Regions from separate parts of the Homo sapiens genome. Here regions 1, 2, 4, 5 and 6 are each linked to region 3. The links are contacts of gene promoters, found by promoter capture Hi-C in blood cells and fetal thymus (Javierre and others, 2016). All regions are on one chromosome and are shown on one strand. The core of a region is centred on a gene start or on the middle of the fragment in contact, and the rest is flanking DNA. Distances in the headings are between cores, read along the strand shown.

The links. The method cuts DNA at HindIII sites, captures the fragments that hold promoters and counts their contacts. A CHiCAGO score of 5 or more calls a contact.
Region 1: a fragment that was not itself captured here is called in contact with the fragment with the promoter of RRP15 in region 3 in 1 of 17 cell types (monocytes); the score reaches 7.2 in monocytes.
Region 2: a contact is called between a fragment that was not itself captured here and the fragment with the promoter of RRP15 in region 3, in 1 of 17 cell types (monocytes). The highest score is 5.9, in monocytes.
Region 4: a fragment that was not itself captured here is called in contact with the fragment with the promoter of RRP15 in region 3 in 1 of 17 cell types (total CD4 T cells); the score reaches 6.3 in total CD4 T cells.
Region 5: a contact is called between a fragment that was not itself captured here and the fragment with the promoter of RRP15 in region 3, in 2 of 17 cell types (total B cells and monocytes). The highest score is 6.9, in total B cells.
Region 6: a contact is called between a fragment that was not itself captured here and the fragment with the promoter of RRP15 in region 3, in 2 of 17 cell types (naive B cells and total B cells). The highest score is 6.5, in naive B cells.

Annotation. Positions count from the first base shown.
Region 1 is chr1:219,586,772-219,589,746 of GRCh38, reverse strand. No RefSeq gene overlaps it. Among named protein-coding and RNA genes, the nearest start is that of ZC3H11B, 25 kb to the left of the region's middle. The HindIII fragment of the contact is 385 bases long and covers 1,160-1,544 here.
Region 2 is chr1:219,664,765-219,667,678 of GRCh38, reverse strand. No RefSeq gene overlaps it. Among named protein-coding and RNA genes, the nearest start is that of ZC3H11B, 53 kb to the right of the region's middle. The HindIII fragment of the contact is 3,636 bases long and covers 1-2,914 here.
Region 3 is chr1:218,283,933-218,286,699 of GRCh38, reverse strand. It overlaps RRP15 (ribosomal RNA processing 15 homolog), which reads right to left and starts at 1,407. Exons shown (of 5, transcript NM_016052.4): 1 at 1,245-1,407. The coding sequence starts at 1,383. RefSeq lists enhancers at 1,150-1,429, 1,960-2,029. The HindIII fragment of the contact is 12,027 bases long and covers 1-2,767 here.
Region 4 is chr1:219,433,920-219,436,793 of GRCh38, reverse strand. LYPLAL1-AS1 (LYPLAL1 antisense RNA 1) reads left to right here. Exons shown (of 4, transcript NR_135822.1): 4 at 1,381-1,636. It also overlaps a transcript of LYPLAL1 not described here. Among named protein-coding and RNA genes, the nearest start is that of LYPLAL1-AS1, 120 kb to the left of the region's middle. The HindIII fragment of the contact is 1,458 bases long and covers 757-2,214 here.
Region 5 is chr1:219,462,986-219,465,887 of GRCh38, reverse strand. All of the region lies in intron 2 of LYPLAL1-AS1 (LYPLAL1 antisense RNA 1), which reads left to right. Among named protein-coding and RNA genes, the nearest start is that of LYPLAL1-AS1, 93 kb to the left of the region's middle. The HindIII fragment of the contact is 1,877 bases long and covers 313-2,189 here.
Region 6 is chr1:219,404,165-219,407,178 of GRCh38, reverse strand. It overlaps a transcript of LYPLAL1 not described here. Among named protein-coding and RNA genes, the nearest start is that of LYPLAL1-AS1, 150 kb to the left of the region's middle. The HindIII fragment of the contact is 1,024 bases long and covers 902-1,925 here.

The DNA.
Region 1 (2,975 bases), core at 103-2,602, 1.3 Mb before region 3:
GAGAGATTTTTGAAAGAGCTAGATACTGTATCTCTGGGATTAAAGTGACAAAGCATGGCCTTTAAGAGATCAGAAGTAAAAGATATTTTAGCACAGTGGATTGTCAGTCTGCATTAGCAGGTGGTGGAAGAGCTTTCGGCAGACATGCCCCTATAACTTCAGTTAGTGGCAGCACCATTGGCACAGGTACACCCCCAGGGAGCTGGCCCTGGTAACAAGGTGGCAGCAAGGGGAATTCACATTTAGAGGCAATGAAGGTAGCTGTCGCCACCATCATAAACTTCTCCTCCTACTCCTCCCTTACTCTTCCTCATCATTCTCCTTTCTCCCTCTTCTCCCCTCCTCCTCTCCCTTTTTCATCCTCCTCATCCTTCTTCATCTAGCTGTGATACTTTTTGTCCTGGATTTAGGTTGTACTGGTGAGGATAGAGACAGCAAATCAATAATAATATTTTAAATAAAGTTTTAAGCACATATACAACAAACGCTGCATTTGATACATACATTGTCTCATTTCATCATTATTTAATCTCCCTTAAGGTAGGTATAGTAACTCTGCAATGGAGTTGAGAGAAATGAGGCATAGGAGGGAGAATGACTTGCTTAAGGTCTCACAATTCATAAGTGATGGCAGGAGGATTTGAACTTCTCTTGGAGGTTCAAATTTGAACCTGGAGTCTCTTTGACTCCAGGACACTTGTTCTAAAGTCACTCAGATTCAAAAGGTAGAATCAGATGCCTTAGTGATTGGATGTGTCAGGGACAGGGGACTGTGAGGAGGAGAAGGGGTCTAAAATACTTCCTAGTTTTCTGATTTGGGTGGCCTGTTGAAATGTTAATGGTGCTTTACCCAGGGTAGGGACACTCTGACTCCTAGAAATAGTTCCAGCCTCTAATTAGTGTCGAGATCATTTTTTAGGTTAAAAATGAGCTTTGGGCTAGAGTTACAGGAATTCTTATTTCAATCTTTCACTTGGTTTTGCCTATAATAGACTGGCTAAACTGTAAGAGGCCTCCTCTTAATTTTAAACTGTCTTGAACTCAAAATAGGCAAAGTATTAAGCTAATGAAAGAGCAGTGTTCTTGTTACCTTTATGTTCATGCCCCCAGAGTCTTTTTCCCAATGGGCACCAGGTATCATGTTATGGCCGTGAAAGCTTTCAGGCAGTGGTTACAGAAAGTCTTGAAAAGTAGAAAAGTCAAGCATGCTGGAGGAGCCCTGGCCTATTAAAGAGAGAGAGAGGTCTGGTTCTGATTACTGATAATTATAGATAAGCTGGAGCCGACAGCCATTTTCTGACCACAAACTCAAATCAATCAATTAAAAACTGCATGTAGCTGCACCACGGCTAATCAGTCCCAGGCACTTCAGGATGATCCATTAAGTCCTACCTCTACCGTGTCATGGTTGCTGTGTTCCATCTGCTACTCTGACAGTGGATCAAATGCACACCTCATTTTATACTTCTGGCTAATCAAGAATGCTGTTCACAGTGTTAGTCTTCCTTCTACTTCCTGAAATTGCCAGCCTTGTACAAGAAGCTTGATGATTGAGTCATTATTTCCCTTTCTGGACCCAGACATGCAATACTAAGAAAAATAATTACTAGCAAGAAGAAGCAATCATCTTTGAAATATTTTGCTCATTCTGTTGCTCTCCCAGGAAAACAGATGGTGGGGGCTTCTGGAGGTGGGTGGTTGCAACACTGAGATACAGAAGCTATTCTGTAGAAGCAGCAGTTGAATGTGTGTTGGCTAAGTAGTCTCCGAAAGATATTTGGGGAAATGTGATCTACTTTCAAACTGAGATATGTGGAAGAGGGATAGTGACTTTTGGTTCCTCCATATGTGTGGATTCTCAAGGAAGCAGATTTCGACACAATCTAATGAAGAAATCTTTTCTTCTGAGGCTGCAAACTGGTAGCTCATGAGCTAAAGCCTGCTAACAGATGTGGCTTGTTGGTCTCACAGAGTGTTTAAAACAAATTTTGAATTAGTTACTAACATTTAAAAGGCAAGAAATTGAACATTTTTTATTTCTGACTTTATTTATTTATTTATTTATTTTGAAAAACTGGAAGATCCAGTGAAACTGAGCTCAGACTTCCTCCAGCCTGCAGGCTGTTTCCTTTGGACAGCACATGTGCTTTCCAGCTCACCACATTCCCTCCAACTTTCTTTGGAGGACCTGCATCAGCCTCCTTCACTCATTTATGTTACTTTCTGGCTCTTCTAGCTTTTCTGAGTTTGTAGCTCTTACTAAATACTGAAGCACCTTATGTAGTTAGTGATGAGCTTTTCAAGTGTTTAGACAGGCTGGAAGAACATTTGCTGGACAAAGAGTGGACAGTATATCCTTGGACTCCAGAAACTCGGCCCCTTCTGAACTCCAATCTTTAGAGGACCCTTCTTGGACTTTCCTCCAGCTGTGCCCCACCCTTGGGAAGAGTAGGCCATGGGGTCAAAGGGACAAGTCCTTTCAGAATCTATTCACTTTTGACATTCACTGCTCACTCCAGACACTTATCTTTCAGATTCTCCCCATGTTTGTCTTGCTGAAGATGGACTGTGCTGCTGGTGTATACGTACCCCTAAGTGTGATGAGTGGGCAAGAGGAGACAGTTAGGTAGGCAAGATATATTTGGTGCTTAGATATGTGGGTTGTTGAGTCCATAGACATGCATGGGAGACCCTTTGTGATACAGGACAGAATTCAGGGCAGGAAAAGAAGGTGGGCTGGGGGCCTCTGTTAGAACCCTGGGAAGGGCCTTTAACTCCTTTCCAGGGCTTATCCTGAGCTCATATTTTTAAATACTATGTCTCTAATATTCTCTTATTTCCAGTAATGGCACAAATCCTGTGCTTTGCAAAACATTAAGTAGAGGGTGGGTGGACTCAAGAGAAACAGGTACACGCCACTCTAAAATATGATAGACTATAAAGAAAGGCCAAAACAACACATAGATAACCATATG
Region 2 (2,914 bases), core at 24-2,523, 1.4 Mb before region 3:
CCTGTAACCCCAGCTCAAGAGGCTGAGGTGGGAGAATCGCTTGAACCTGGGAGGCACAGGTTGCAGTGAGCCGAGATCGCACCACTGCACTCCAGCCTGGGTGACAGAAGAAGACCCTCTTTCAAAATAAATAGAGAGAGAGAGAGAAGGAAAGAAAGAAAGAAAGAAAGAAAGAAAGAAAGAAAGAAAGAAAGAAAGAAAGAAAGAAAGAAAGAAAAGAAAGAACAACAAAACAAGAAGACCAAAAGTGCCGAAGCTCACACACCAAATTAGTGCAGAGCTAGCATTCCAAGCTGGTCTCTCTGATTCCAGAGCTTCTGCGTCTAAACACTCTGTCATGAACATGAGTCTTGTCGCACCTTCCCTTTTTCCTGATGACGTGGGCTAGACACATAAAATTCAGGAATGATCTACCTGATGGTGTATTCTGAAGGAACCACAGCAAGGAGGCCCGGTGGCCTTTGGGTATGCAGGGAGCTGCAGGGACTTCTCCCTCCTGTAGCCCTGGCTGTTCGATTCTCAAGGAACTTTGTACCACTCTTGGGAACATGGGACTCTTTCAAGGAGAGCACCAGGACCAAGTTCCTTGCTAATGTTCCCAGCCGATGGGTAGTGGAAAGAGATCAGGCCTAAATGTGATTCTGAATTTGCCGGCTTTGTGATTTGGGGCATAGCACTGAACTCCTCCGAGGTTGAGTTTTCTCATCTGTGCAGTAAGGACAAGAGTAGCGGCTACCTAGTGGAGCCGTTGTCAGGACTGAAAAAGAGTAATTCATTTGCATGTGTCTTGTAGGCAGCACTATCTTTACAATGCAAAATTTGTTACTAGTGACCGCCCTTTCAAGTGAAAAACTTGATGCCATTTGGACCTGGCAAAGTGATCAATAAGTGTTTGCTGATTGATTGACACAACACCGAGGGCCCAAGAGTCCTGAGGTCCATGGCCTGTTGTCCAGACTCCAGTTGAGTGGTGGGTCCCAGGCTTCCAATGCTATGGCCCCTGCAGTGGCTTCCATTTTTGAGAAAGATAAACGAGGCCAGGCCATAGGTTCCCAAAAATCTGAGGTGTTGGCTCATCAGAGCTTGCTGTGGAGCATAACTTGTGTACTTTAGTCCTGCTCACTGGCACATTTGTATTCATTGAAAGCAATTGCCCCAAATGTAAAAGTCATAATAGTGATAGCCAAATACTCTGTCCTTTACTGACAGTCAGCCAAGCCTTGCATAATGATCACACCGGAAAATCACCATGGAGCAACAAATCTGCTGGGGGAAGAAAGGAAACACTTCCAATCATTTCTGAGTCAGCTTTCTGACTTATTGGTTTTGTTCCTTCCCACATGAAGCATTTATAGAAATGTGCTTGGCTCTGAGAAACGGGCTTCCCTGAATGGAGAGACGCATGCCTCAGTTAGGGGTGTTGAGTGGTTCAAGCAAAGTTCTAAAGTGAGAGATGAATGGTTTCGTGTTTTGTGGTTCTGAAAGTTGGGGGGTAAGACTTCTTTTTCTTTAGAAGGAGGGTTGAGTGAACCAATCAGACTGAATACAGAATGCTTCCCCTTAGCAGGTCCAAACCAAACCACTTCTAACTTAGATTGGAAAGCCAAGCTCTGTCCTCATGTCACTGTTTATGAAGCTGTTGCATTCTTTGGCAGGAGAATATGGAGGCAAATCACAAAAGGAAGCAGAAATCATATAAAATCTTACTTTCAGTAGTGAGGTGTCTACTTTTTGTTGTCGGTCCTGGAGGAGCTGACAGTGGCTGCAACCTTCATCACCATTTTCATAACGACTCTTGGAGAAAAGAAAGGGAGATATATGTTGTATCACTAAAAGTAATCAGGATGCTGATGACTCTCCTTCTCTGCACAAGCAAGGCTGCTTCTTTTTCAGTCTGATAATTTGGTCTTAGCCCCACGTGACCAAAATGCTGGACTATCCTGGCGTCGTGAGCTTATAAAGCAAACTCTCTGCAGCAAAGCAGTGCTGGGCAATGTGCGGCTGTGTCCATGTCTGTCAATGGCTTGACTTTCAATATGATATTTGTTCTGAGTATTTATTCAGAACTTCAAAGTCACCAACAGCAAATGATCCCTTATACAGTTTAGATGACACATGCTCTTGTAGGGTATGGTGTATACATTTTCTCTAAAAAAGAGAAAAATATTTCCTCAGCAAGTCTGGAAACAAGAAAATAGTTAATTTCTGGGGTCTGACAGTTTTTTTTTTAATGAGATTCCCTGAGACCCCCTGAAACTCATCTAAAAATCCCATCAGGGTCAGCATTGTGTGTGAGGTGTGTGCATCCAGAAGTGGGTACCTGTGATCCTAGCTGAGTCAAAAACTTGGAAGATGTGGGAGTTGAAGCAACAGATTAGAAATCTGATGACTATGACTATTTATGTATATACGTATGTAAATATAGCATCAGAACATCTGGATTAAAAAATAGAAAAATGTCTACATAGTTATCCATAGATATGGATATATAGATATAGATATAGATATATACTTATAAATATATAAAATGCTAAATATCTGGCTGAATAGTTTATGTGCTTTCTCAGTTTTATTTGGACTTAGACTAAGTGTGGACACAACATGTGAGTTCTGATATCAGTTATGTAAATAAGACTCTGTTTGTTCATAATTCGGGTTCTAGGTCTTTTTTCTTCTTAGGAAGCAGCTGGTAACATCGGTGACATTTCTAATGCACTTGGACACACCTGACAATACCCTACCTTGATGAAACAGGTGAATGCCTATGCCTTTTAGGGAGCAGAGCCAAACTTGAAAGGCACTACCACCACTGTACAGCTAGCTGGATCTTCCTTCACAGATTTGGAAATGTTTACTTAACTGAACTGTGTGGCTGCAGTTTCTAGGTATTTGATAAGGAAGAAGAGGAGTGACA
Region 3 (2,767 bases), core at 158-2,657:
ACTTAAATATCTGTGAAGGACCCACAAGGCAATAGGAACTGGGGATACAGTAGGCTCTATTTTTATGGAACTTATATTCCAATTGGGAAAGCAGCAAATACATACATCAAATGGTTTGGGCAGGGTTGAGAAAAAATAAAGCAGGGCAATAAGTCAAAAAGTGAAGAAAAGAAGGCAGGAAGAAGAGTAGTGGTGGTACGTTACATAGGGTAGTCAGGGACAAGTCTCTCTGGTAAGGCACTGGATCAGAGGCTGGTGAGGGAGAGACATGCCAAGCATTTGAAAACTATTCTAGGCAGCGGAGCCAACAAATGAAGAAACCATGGTGTGGGAGCATGTTTAAGGTGTTAAACACAAGCATACCGGTATGGCATGATTACAGTTAGTGGTTTGTGAGGGGCATATTGGCCTATGACAGACAACCTGGCCCAAATCATACAGCCTAAGGATTTTGGATATTATATACTGAGATGAGAAGCCACTGGATCATCTCAAACAGACAGCGGGCATAATTAGAAATACGTTATAAAAGAATAGCTCTGTCTGTTTTTTGGGTATCAGCTGGTACAAAGGAGCAATAACTGGGCAGTAGGAAGTCAGGGATTACCTGCAATTCCTTGTAACCTAATAAGCTGGTGCCAAGAATGATGGTAAAGAGGAGCAACAGACACAGCATGGTTGAAAGCCTCAAAAACACATCCTTCCTTCCTTTTATTATCAAGCGTCTCTGAGAGACATAGTTATCAAACACTACCAGTTTTTAATCGACCTTAACCACCAAACTCTTCTTTCATTCACTATTATTTAGTCTCTAAAACACGCACACATCTACCGCACAAAAAGTCAAGTACACCCCCTTCTTCCTCTTACCTCTTTTAACCTTTTGCTTCTTACACCCTATGAGACCCATTCTTCTCCTGTTTTCAAGTACCCTCTTCCTTTCACCCTTTGCTACTGTAAGTTTCTCGGTAGCTGCAGGTGTTTCACCCATTTTATTATAATTAATAATGGTGACCCTGAAAATACCTAGTAAAAGAATGTGGAAACTCAAAATTACAGTTGACAGCGTTACTTCTCTGAACACGACTTCCCCAAGCCTCCTCACTAAGCCAAAGTCGCCCCTCTGAAGTGGTGCCAAGATAAAACCCAGGTGGCTAGCAGCAAATGAAGTCGCAAGCGCTGCTTGACACGAACTCAGCCCCGCCTTTCCTCCCAGACACCAAAGCTCAGCCCTACCACATTACCTTCACTATCAGAAGTGTCTGTGGCCTCGTCTTCCAGCACCGACGCTACGGCTCCAGTTACCATTTTCATCTTCTTCTTTGGGGTCTTTTTCAGGTTTTCTTCCTCACTCACACGTGAGTCCGGAGCGGCGGCTGCCATTTTTCTGCGCCGGAAGCGTCACCTGACAGTTGCGTCCGGTGGCAACCAGAGGAACTTCTGCATTTAGTGCCGGTAACACAAGGTTCCGGGGCGGGGTCGTCTAGCCCAGAGTTCCGGGGCCGGAGCCTCAGAATGTGACTTGGAGAGAGCTCTGAATGGCTCGGTGTGTTTACGCGAAGTCCGTTCCAGGACGAAAATCAGCGGCTGAATGGCCTCAGCCGACTCCTCCGCTAGCTCGCCTGTGCCCTGGTCCTCCGCCCCAGTGCGTCCCCAGCCCGTCCCCAGCCCAGCGCGGTCCACTTTGATTTCCTAGCCTCGGCGGCTTCCCTTGTCTGCTGCCTTAATGTTGGTTTAGTGTCCTCCTCAGGTGTCTCTTACGTGCCCACTGAACGCCGCAGCAGCTAGGACGCGGGACAGATCCACTGGGGGCCGATAATTAGAATACGATCGTATCATCCCCCCGCCCAAGATAACACGCGAGACCTTTCTTGCAAACCGAATAGACTCACCTTCTTTCCCTGGGGCGGGTGTTGAATCCAACCGCACCCTTCTCCCTCGGACCCGGCTGGGGCCTGGAGGGTTTCTGGCGCCCGACTGCGCAGTGCAGACCGAGGGTGCGAATACCTTGCTATCCGCGCGAGGATCCTGCCTCCCACCCGGGGCTAGCTTTTCTCTGAAGTTAGCCTCTGTCACCAGCTCCTAGTTCCATCGAAGCACCTACCACAGTCGGCCTTCATTTTCCCCCCTAAAATGTTGGCTTCTCGCAGGAGGGGAACGTATTTCATTTACCATGTCCCCTCAAGGTTAGCAACAGAAGTTGGCCTGAAGTGAATTTTCCAAAAATATTTTTGGAAGGGATGAATGAATCAATGAATGAGTGACAGAATATAACTATTGACAAAGTTAATGACTCAGATGGATAATGCAGCAAACCTTTACTGGCTAGACTTGTTCTAAAGGCTTTCCCCAAACTTAGCGTTTTCCCTTTCCCCTCTTAAGGAGGTTCATAGATTGTGATACCCATAAGTCAAAAACAAAAACAAGAATCCTCATTTTGACATATTCCAGTAGATGTTTATGTAGGAAATAAATATATATTCACATCCTAAAAACTCAATACAACATTTTTAAACTTGGTTTTTAATTTTTTTGTCTTTTAAGAGAGAGAGGGTCTAGCCGGGTGCGGTGGCTCACACCTGTAATCCCAGCACTTTGGGAGGCTGAGATAAGTGGATCGCTTGAGTCCAGGAGTTTGAGAACAGCCTGGCCAACATGGTGAAACCCCATCTCTACTAAAAATACACAAATTAGCCAAACGCAGTGACGAGTGCCTGTAGTCCCAGTTACTCGGGAGGCTGAAGCAGGAGAATCGCTTGAACCTTGG
Region 4 (2,874 bases), core at 236-2,735, 1.2 Mb before region 3:
CACCAGAATGTGATCTTTACTAATACAAATGCAGAACAAGTATTAACTCAACGCTCTTCATAATAATAAAATTCACTGCCCACTTGAGTGCACATGTTTATTATGAAATGGTAACACACTTAGCCTTGTGGATGAGGAACCCCAAATCTGAGCCCTGTGACTTAAGGGTCCAGACTTAAGGGTCTGCTCTGGCTATGCCTCTTCCCATGGGGCAAGGAATCTCTAGGCCAAATTAGAGCACACACTCCTTCCCCCTTCAAGACTAAGCTCCGGGCAGGCAGATTTATCTTTTAGGTACAATAGGTGGAGTGCCAAGGGCCCCTATTACTGTTAGGGGCCACAAAAATGTTCAAATTTCTTTTAAAATCAGAAAAAAAAGAATGAACTTTTAGGTTGAAAACATATCTGACATCATATTAATATATTTATTTCTATACCAACACAGTCGTAAGACATAACTTGTGATTTATTTTATGGAAAAGGGGGCCCACAAATACAAAGGCACCTAGAGTTCTTTAAAGACATAAAGTGGCTATCCCTCTAGGAGGCTAGAACCCCAGACTTTTATGTCCAAGTGGCCAAAGCCTACTTCCAGGGCCTGCGAGGGCCTCTTGCCCAGGTGTCTTCTTTTAAGAGCAGGCAGCACACAGGTATGAGCACCCCAAAGCACACCAGTGACTATGGCTGATCTTGTACAGTCTGTGACTGGAGTGTGGGTGTACGGGCTAGTGTGTTCCTGTGTCTATGTGTGAAGCTTCTTGTAATAGGAGATGGCACTGGGGCAGAATGAAAAGGAGTATAGACAAGGATTGGGGCTAGTTCTCTTCAAAATTTTGCATTCTGGTGCAGACTGTGTAGACAGCATTACTTGAACAAACTGTATGAGAACAGACATTGCAAATGCTTTAAATGAATGTGGGATGTGTCACTGATCTTTCACTATTATTATTATTATTATTATCATTTTTGGGACGGAATCTCACTATGTCACCCAGGCTGGAGTGTAATGGTGTGGTCTCGGCTCACTGCAACCTCCACCTCCCGGGTTCAAGTGATTCTCCTGCCTCAGCCTCCCGAGTAGCTGGGACTACAGGCATGCACCACCACACCCAGCTTATTTTTTGTATTTTTAGTACAGACGGGGTTTCACTATGTTGGCCAGGCTGGTCTCAAACTCCTGACCTCGTGATCCGCCTGCCTCGGCCTCCCAAAGTACTGGGATTGATTACAGGCATGAGCCACCGCACCCAGCCTGATCTTTCACTATTATTAACATTAGGAAGATAACATTGTACACTAAGCCCATCAAAGAGATGCAAGTTAAGTGCAGGCTAATAACAACTTTCTGTAAATAATTTAATTTTGAATTTTATCTAACAGGTGCTGTTAATTTTCTTGTGGAGAAGGAACTGTCTTTAGAAAAATATCTCAAAAAGCCACTGAAGTAGAAAGTTTCAGCATGCTGAAGATGGAACTTGAGAAGATAGAAAGTTCTGGGTCCTTAGTGGCATGACTGAGTCGCTGGACCACTGTTGGAACCACCCTATGTCTTAGTTTTTAAATCTCTTTACTGTCTAAGACATTTTTAGTGGAAGTATTTATCTCTGGCATCCAATAAGACCTTTAAGGATTTGCAGTTTTATCTATGTGTTTGTTTATTGTCTGCTCCACCCTACTTGATTGTGATCACCATGACATCAATGACTGTGCATCTTTTGTTCACTCAGGAATATCCAGTGCCTGCCACGCAGAGTGTGCTGCATGTACATGCTCACTTGATATCTGTTGTAGCAAAGAGTGAAAGAGAGAAGGAATAAATGCTTTCTCCCATGATGAGGGGACATGGGGTCCAGACAAGCTGGACCATTATCCCAGGCCCAGCGCTCTGCTTTATTTTTTTTTTTCCAGTACAGCATCACATTCAGTTACAACAGAGTGAAATCTCCTAAGAACACGGCTGATTATTTCTTGATTGCAAAAAGGACTCACTAACCCTCCGATCTCCTGTAACGCAAGTCAATGCTCTTCTAATCTCCTTTTAGACAGCACCTGTACTTGTCAGTCAACGCATGGTAGTCTGGGCTAGCCAAGTGAATCCTTAACTAAACTGAAGTGGTGCTGATCATTCAGCCTTCAGAATTGAAAAAATCACAGCATTGCTGAAGGAAAAGGCATTTTTCAGGTAGAGAGGCATAAGTCTTGGGCCAGGAAGCTTCAGTAAGAAGACAATAATTTCATAGAAATGCATTAGCTTGGGGAGTCCAACTGCTGTTCTTGCACCTAAGAAATTCAGAGGAGAGCTCTTTGCTTCCTTGCTCATTCCAGTGGTTAGGAGTCAGGCCTTGTCCCAGAATGTTCAGGTTGATGCTTACCATTTAAGCCTTAAGTTAATCCGTTGAAGCTCCAGGCCTTTTATGGGATTCACAAGAATAAACAGCATTTAACTATAGATTCTCAAAGGTCAAATCTTCAACCTAAATCTGAGGATTCAAAGCATTGTTCACTCTAATAATTCTGCTAGTTCCCAACTTCACACAAACCATTTATTTCAGAATGTAAACCTTGAATAATCTTTTCTTACTTGTAGTTTTGTGGTCATTTAGAAAACAGCAATACTCTATTTTAATTGGAACTAAGTGACAAAAATAAGCCACTTCATTAGTTTTCTAGATAACGGTAAAATGTAAGAACAAAAAGCCACTTCTTTTTCCACGTGGTATTTTACAGTGACTTTTTTTTTTCTTTTTACTGCATTTTAAAATTCTACTGGAGGCATTTCTCGGAAACTTTCTCTTACTTGTTAATGAATCATCCCCTTTGAGAATCAGCAGGTGATTTCAGGAGCCCAGGTGTGAATAATTGATTTAAGGTCGA
Region 5 (2,902 bases), core at 2-2,501, 1.2 Mb before region 3:
TGAAGCACCTCTCAGGTCCTGTGACATCTGTATTAGAATTAAAGCTAGAAGGAACCATTTTCTTGGCATTGCAGTTTAGTCTGCCCCAGCCAAACATAGAAAGCTGTCATGTGAATATTTTTGAACCTCAAAAACAATTTTGGTTTAAGTCTGGGTGGGGGAGGAGGAGAATGGTGGCTCTTATTTCTCCCACACCAGTCCACCCATCTCATATTAGAACATGTAATTCCAACAGTGCTGACTGTCATAAAATTTGTGAACGGAGTGTCCTCTGAACACTGTTTGGTACACACATGGCCTCTTTAAGAAGCTTACTTGTAACTTATAATTAAATTAAAGAACCAGCAGCTGCTGAAAAAAAAAGTATAGCCTAGAGGCCATGTTTATGAGTTTCTCAGGCAAGAGGTAGTCATGTCAGAACTACTATTGTTATGAGTCTGAATGTTTCCAGTGAAATCTTTGCACGAATCATTTGCTTAGTACTAGTCATCCAGTCATGCCTCTTGATTTCAGCCCACTATTTCCTCTTGGAACTGGCAAAAACAACTCTACAAAGGAAAACATTTTATAAGAAAAATCATAGCCTTCTGCTTTTTAAACCATAGATGACCTGGACTCTATGACCAGTTCACAGGGGTGCTGCCTCTGGTTCCAATGGCCGGGGAAGAAAGACTACAACAAACACCAAGCCCTGAAAGCAGAAACCCTGGATTCTCTTTTCTTTGTTTCCTTAATAAAGGATTTTAATACAGTGTAGGTAGGAGATAACTGCCCTGGTTTATACAGGACTGCCCTGCTTTTAGCACTGACAGTCTCACGTCATGGGAAACCCCTCATTCTTGGTCAAATTGGGACAGTTGGTCATCCCAGCATTAGGGGCCTTTCCATGCTGTTAACCAAGCATCAAACATTCTGGGATCAGTTTATGATTTAGAAAGTTTTGAACCATAATACCCAAATCACACATCGGTGGTCAAGTCCCAGTAAATTATACTATAAAGAAGTCATAGAATCTCCAAATAGTCCTTAAATATCTTTTACTACAGAGCTTCCAATCTGGTGTTCCCAGTGGTAGATGTGAACACATTGTGCTACTAATCCAGGTGTGTCAAGGTATTGATCCCCCAGCCCTATTTTGGCTGGGCAGAATCTGGGGTACCTCGAGCCCTCAGTCACTTTTCCCTAGCCATGAGCTACCTTATCTATCTCTTTAGACCAGTGAGCACTACTAAATAATATCATTTTCCATATGTGCCATAATAAGAAAAAAATTTGGAAAGTAGTGCTCAGATCTAAGACACTCATTTTATAGGCAAAACCTAACTTCATTTCTATTAAATACAGGCTGTATGAAGCTGAGGCAAGATTGCGTTCAATTTATCTTGTGTTCAACAGTCTTCAAGGTGATTTAGATCACTGCCTGGGAAAGCTAATGTAGTACAGCATGAGTGGTAAGTGACAAAACTCAGCAAGCTAAACTTGCATTGAAGGCACGTGGCTGGCTAAACGAGGAGAAGAAAATAGACATTTATCTGAATAATATCGATAGAAATTCCCATGTTGCTTCACTTATCTATGTTTTTAGTAAACATACCATTTAAATCTCAATTACCTTTGAGTTTGAGTTAACCTGATGTTTCATTTCTACTCTTAATTTTGACTTTGGACGTATGCAGAGTTATTATTTAAAAAATCAAGATATCCAGAAAGTAAAGGCAGCTAAGTAAGAATTATAGACTTAAAATCCAGGTTTCCAAGATAAACAAGCATTTACACCTCCTCTTAATTATTCCATAAAGATTTACTCAAGTTCAAAATGGAGAAAAGATACAGAGTGAAAGGCAACATGCAAATAAAAGTCTACAGGCTTGAAGGTATTAGAGTTCTAAATTCCCATTCCCCTTGCTAGTCTTCATAGGCAGTGAGTCGAGAAGGGACAGATTCTGTGTATAAAGCTGGGCCTTTACAGATCCGAACTTTACATTGTGCCAAATTTGAAGCCTGCCCAACTTCTGGCTCTTCGATTGCTTAATACATTAGTGGACTTGTTCCAGTTCCCAGTGGTCGGAGTTCCACATCACACAGTCCCTGTCCCATCTGGTGCTAATTGGCACCCTTGTTGGTAGTTTCCAAAAGCAGAACAGGAAAAATAAAAGGGACTATCTTTCTATCCTTAGAAGTTAGAAGCTTAGTACAGGCAGTCCTCAATTTAAAATGAGCTGTGTACTAAAATATTGTATGTAAATCAGCTGTTTAGAACCCAGAACAAATTTTTCCGATGAAACAAAGTCATGTTTGATGGTTACTTCCCCAGGTCAGCCCAGTTCACTAAAGCCTGTTGGACCCATAATGTACCCAATAAATAGTTTCCATCTTAATAGCATAGAACCATCATCAGTGAACCAAGAAGTAGGAAGAGGTGGTGAAAGCATCACTGCCTTTTGTAGTAGAAGGCCAGGCTGGTTCCTCACTAGTTGAATGATTTTAGAAAATTCTCAGAACCCTTTTTAGCTCTGAGTTTCTTTAACTGAATGGAGAAGGGCAGATTATAAAAGTTGCTTTTTGTCTTCACTGGGTTATTGTTGCAAGGCTCAGATAAGATAATGCCTATGAAATATCTTAAAAAACTACTTTCACCTTCTACTGAAAGAACAGAATCACAGATCCTCCCTCTGTTTCCTTCCTAAACCTTGTCAGCAAGAGGATCAGGGACTACTCAAAATCCAAATTCCATGTTGTGGTTCCCATTTTGGGAAAGTGGTTGGGAGGTTAGGAGGCAATGAAGCAGTAAGAAGAGAGACTACTGAGGGGTGGGATCAAAGGATGGCTCCTTTAGGACGGGAAGATCTTTTATTCTATATAAACCCTCAAAGACAATTTCTTGGTACAGGCTGCTCTTTAT
Region 6 (3,014 bases), core at 164-2,663, 1.1 Mb before region 3:
CACAGTTCTGGCTGAGAAGACAAGAGAAGAAATCTGCTAAGCATTTCTGGAAAAAGTTTTGATTTGCTGATGAAAGGGAACAGACATACTGGTTGCCTTCCTTTTCCCTTTCAGCTGCCTAGTCGCCATTTTGCAATGTGAAACAACATCATTAAGGAAAGATCAAAACAATTGCAGAGATGTCAACCATCATGCCTTTGAATTCATGCTCACAGTTGTCTGCCTCCAGATTCAGTTATATTTGAGGTACTCTTTGAGTTAAGATCCTTCTCATTTTATACCACTTGCAGCTGAACACACTCCCCACTAATTTACCTTGTAAGGTGAATTTCACTTAAAGGAAGAACACATAAGTCAGGGAATGACACATAATAGTAAATGCAGGGTTTTTTTTTCTATTTATGATATAGATTTATACAACTGCTATGTTCTTGACATTGTACCAATTTCAAGGTACAAATAAGACATAATCCCTAAAAGCATGGGTTACAAAATCTGGGTTCAGCATAGGGTTTCATGATAAACAAACAAACACAAATTGTTTTTTATTGTATTTCCTTCTTCTTCACATCTTGTGAATCTAAGAAAAATATCAGAATGTTCGTTTCAGCTCAATTTTTGAAGAGTACAATCTCTAAGTAAAAAGAAACTGTAAATGTTTATAAATGTAACTAGAGCCTAGTAGAAAATAAAGCCATGCAAGTGTGTTTAGGTCCTAATCTTATTAACCAGATTAGTGACACACAGTCTGCCCAAAGTTAATGAAAGCAGTGAGGTTCTTTGACTTCAGTAGATACACACCTGAACCACAGAGATAAACTTGCTTCAAACCTGTGCGATATGTTTTTCTAAGCATAAAATTGAGCATGATAGCTCCAATTTCAGTCTCAGTTTCAAAGCTTCCCTTTCCCGAATAAGAGGCAAACTGTCACATTAAATTTAGCGAATTAAAATCAGTTAACTTGAAAAGCTCTTGGCCCCAATGCAGAGAAAATTGTTTGCATAATAATAACTTATTTCCTTTTTTAAAAGGCGGACTTCTGCCTGAATGCTTCTATAAACTTTTAAGAAAATGGGATTCTCAAATCTCAAGCGTATTGGGTTGCAGTTGGCACTTGAAGCTGGGGACATGCAGAGCTGGCTAATGTCAGCAGCTGTAGGACTGTCAAGAAAAATAGGTGGAAGGGACACTTTTATTATAAGTAGACTTGCAAGGCATTCCAACTTTCAGCTGCTCAACCCAGTATACCAAACACCTCTGACTACCTCAAGTGTGGCCTTGCTGAGTGCTTCCATATTTAGGGGTTATTAGACAGGACTGAAGCAAGTGACCTCTAATGAGGAAGCAATCAGGGCAGGCTCTGACCCTCCTCAGAGGTACTGTAATGAACTGGCCTTGGAAGGTCTTTGATGCTGCCTTTGCATACTGTATATGAGCTTTCTGCTCAGTCATTTCCTCTGCGCTCTGGTAGCACAGCATGAAGCCTGCTATTAGAAAAAAGGTTTATTGCTACCTTGCAAACATTTATTGGGTAATATCTAAAACATGGTGTCAAGTTATAGTAATGCGCTGTTCTGGGAAACTTTTTGAGAATTTTAGTGTTTCAGAAGATGGTCCTTTGAGAATTCTTCTGTTTCAGAAATGAAAAGTGGTAGATATATACGTGTGTGTGTATAATATGCTCATGTATCCTCTGATTACTTGCCAGAGATGTACCATTTTTCTTTCAAGGGAAACATCTATTCCTAAGATAGATTATTCTTGAAATTTTCAAAGAGTATGCCTCAGAGAACAAATATACAAATTTACCATTTGTCTGCAGATATTATTTGCCTGTGTTTATGCTAGGTCACTGACACCACACACATTTTAATCCCCAAGGGAATTTATTTGGTGGTGTTATCTACTCAACCAAGCTGAAGCTTATCTAGTTCACAAGAAAATAGTCAATATGAGCTCCATGCAGACTTATGCTGTTAATGCAGAAGAGGGAAAGAGAATTTACCTTTAACTGTTATGATGAAAATGTGTACAATGACACTTAACTATGGCATGCAAATCCTCTTTTCCTCCCCCACAGGTATCTGGAAAGTACCTTATACAGCTAGGTGCTTAGAAAATGTTTATTGATTAAATAGATGATGATTAACAGATTAATAAAAGGTGAAAGTTACTATCTATGCATTTTTTTCCAGTTTGATGTTCAAAAACTTACCAATGGATGGGGAGTTGCTTTTCATAAACAATTTATAAAGCACTGTCCTGGATGAAATTGTAAAAAGGACGTGGTGTCAAAGATGACTCAGTGGAGTTGAGGTGAAAAATGTGTAATGAGCAAATCATGGTAATTGGGATATCCATCACCTCAAACCCTTATCATGTCTTTGTGTTGAGGACATTTCAAATCTTCCCTTCCAGCTATTTTGAAATATACAACAAATTATTGTTAAGTGTAGCCACCCTAGTGTGCTACTGTACACTAGGACTTACTTATTCCTTCTATCTAACTGTATTTTTGAACCCATGAACCAACATCTCTTTGATTTCCAGCCTGGGCTTTGGTGTCCCTTTTTTTGTGTGTTTTCATAGGGCCCTATATTTATATTATTTGGGCTCAACACATTGCAAAACTGCAGAGGAGTTTACTATTATGCACATTATTATTCTATATTCTGTCACTCTAAGAAACAATAAGTGACCATCTGAAGAGACCATCTTCTAGCACCAAAATATTTAAAGATGATTAAGAATAAGACAAGGGTCTCCTTATTTACAAAATGACATAATTGAAAGGACTAGATTATTAGCAACCCCTCTGGAAAAGGATTACTCTTTTGGATTTTAATTACATAACTAATATATCAACTGAAGTGCTATGCCCTGACGTGTGCTCCCCTCAGCTTCACGATCCATATGTTGAAACCCAACCCCTTAATGTGATGGCATTTGGAGATGGGGCTTTGGAGATATTAGTTAGGTTTAGATAAGGTCATGAGAATGGGGCTCTTATGAT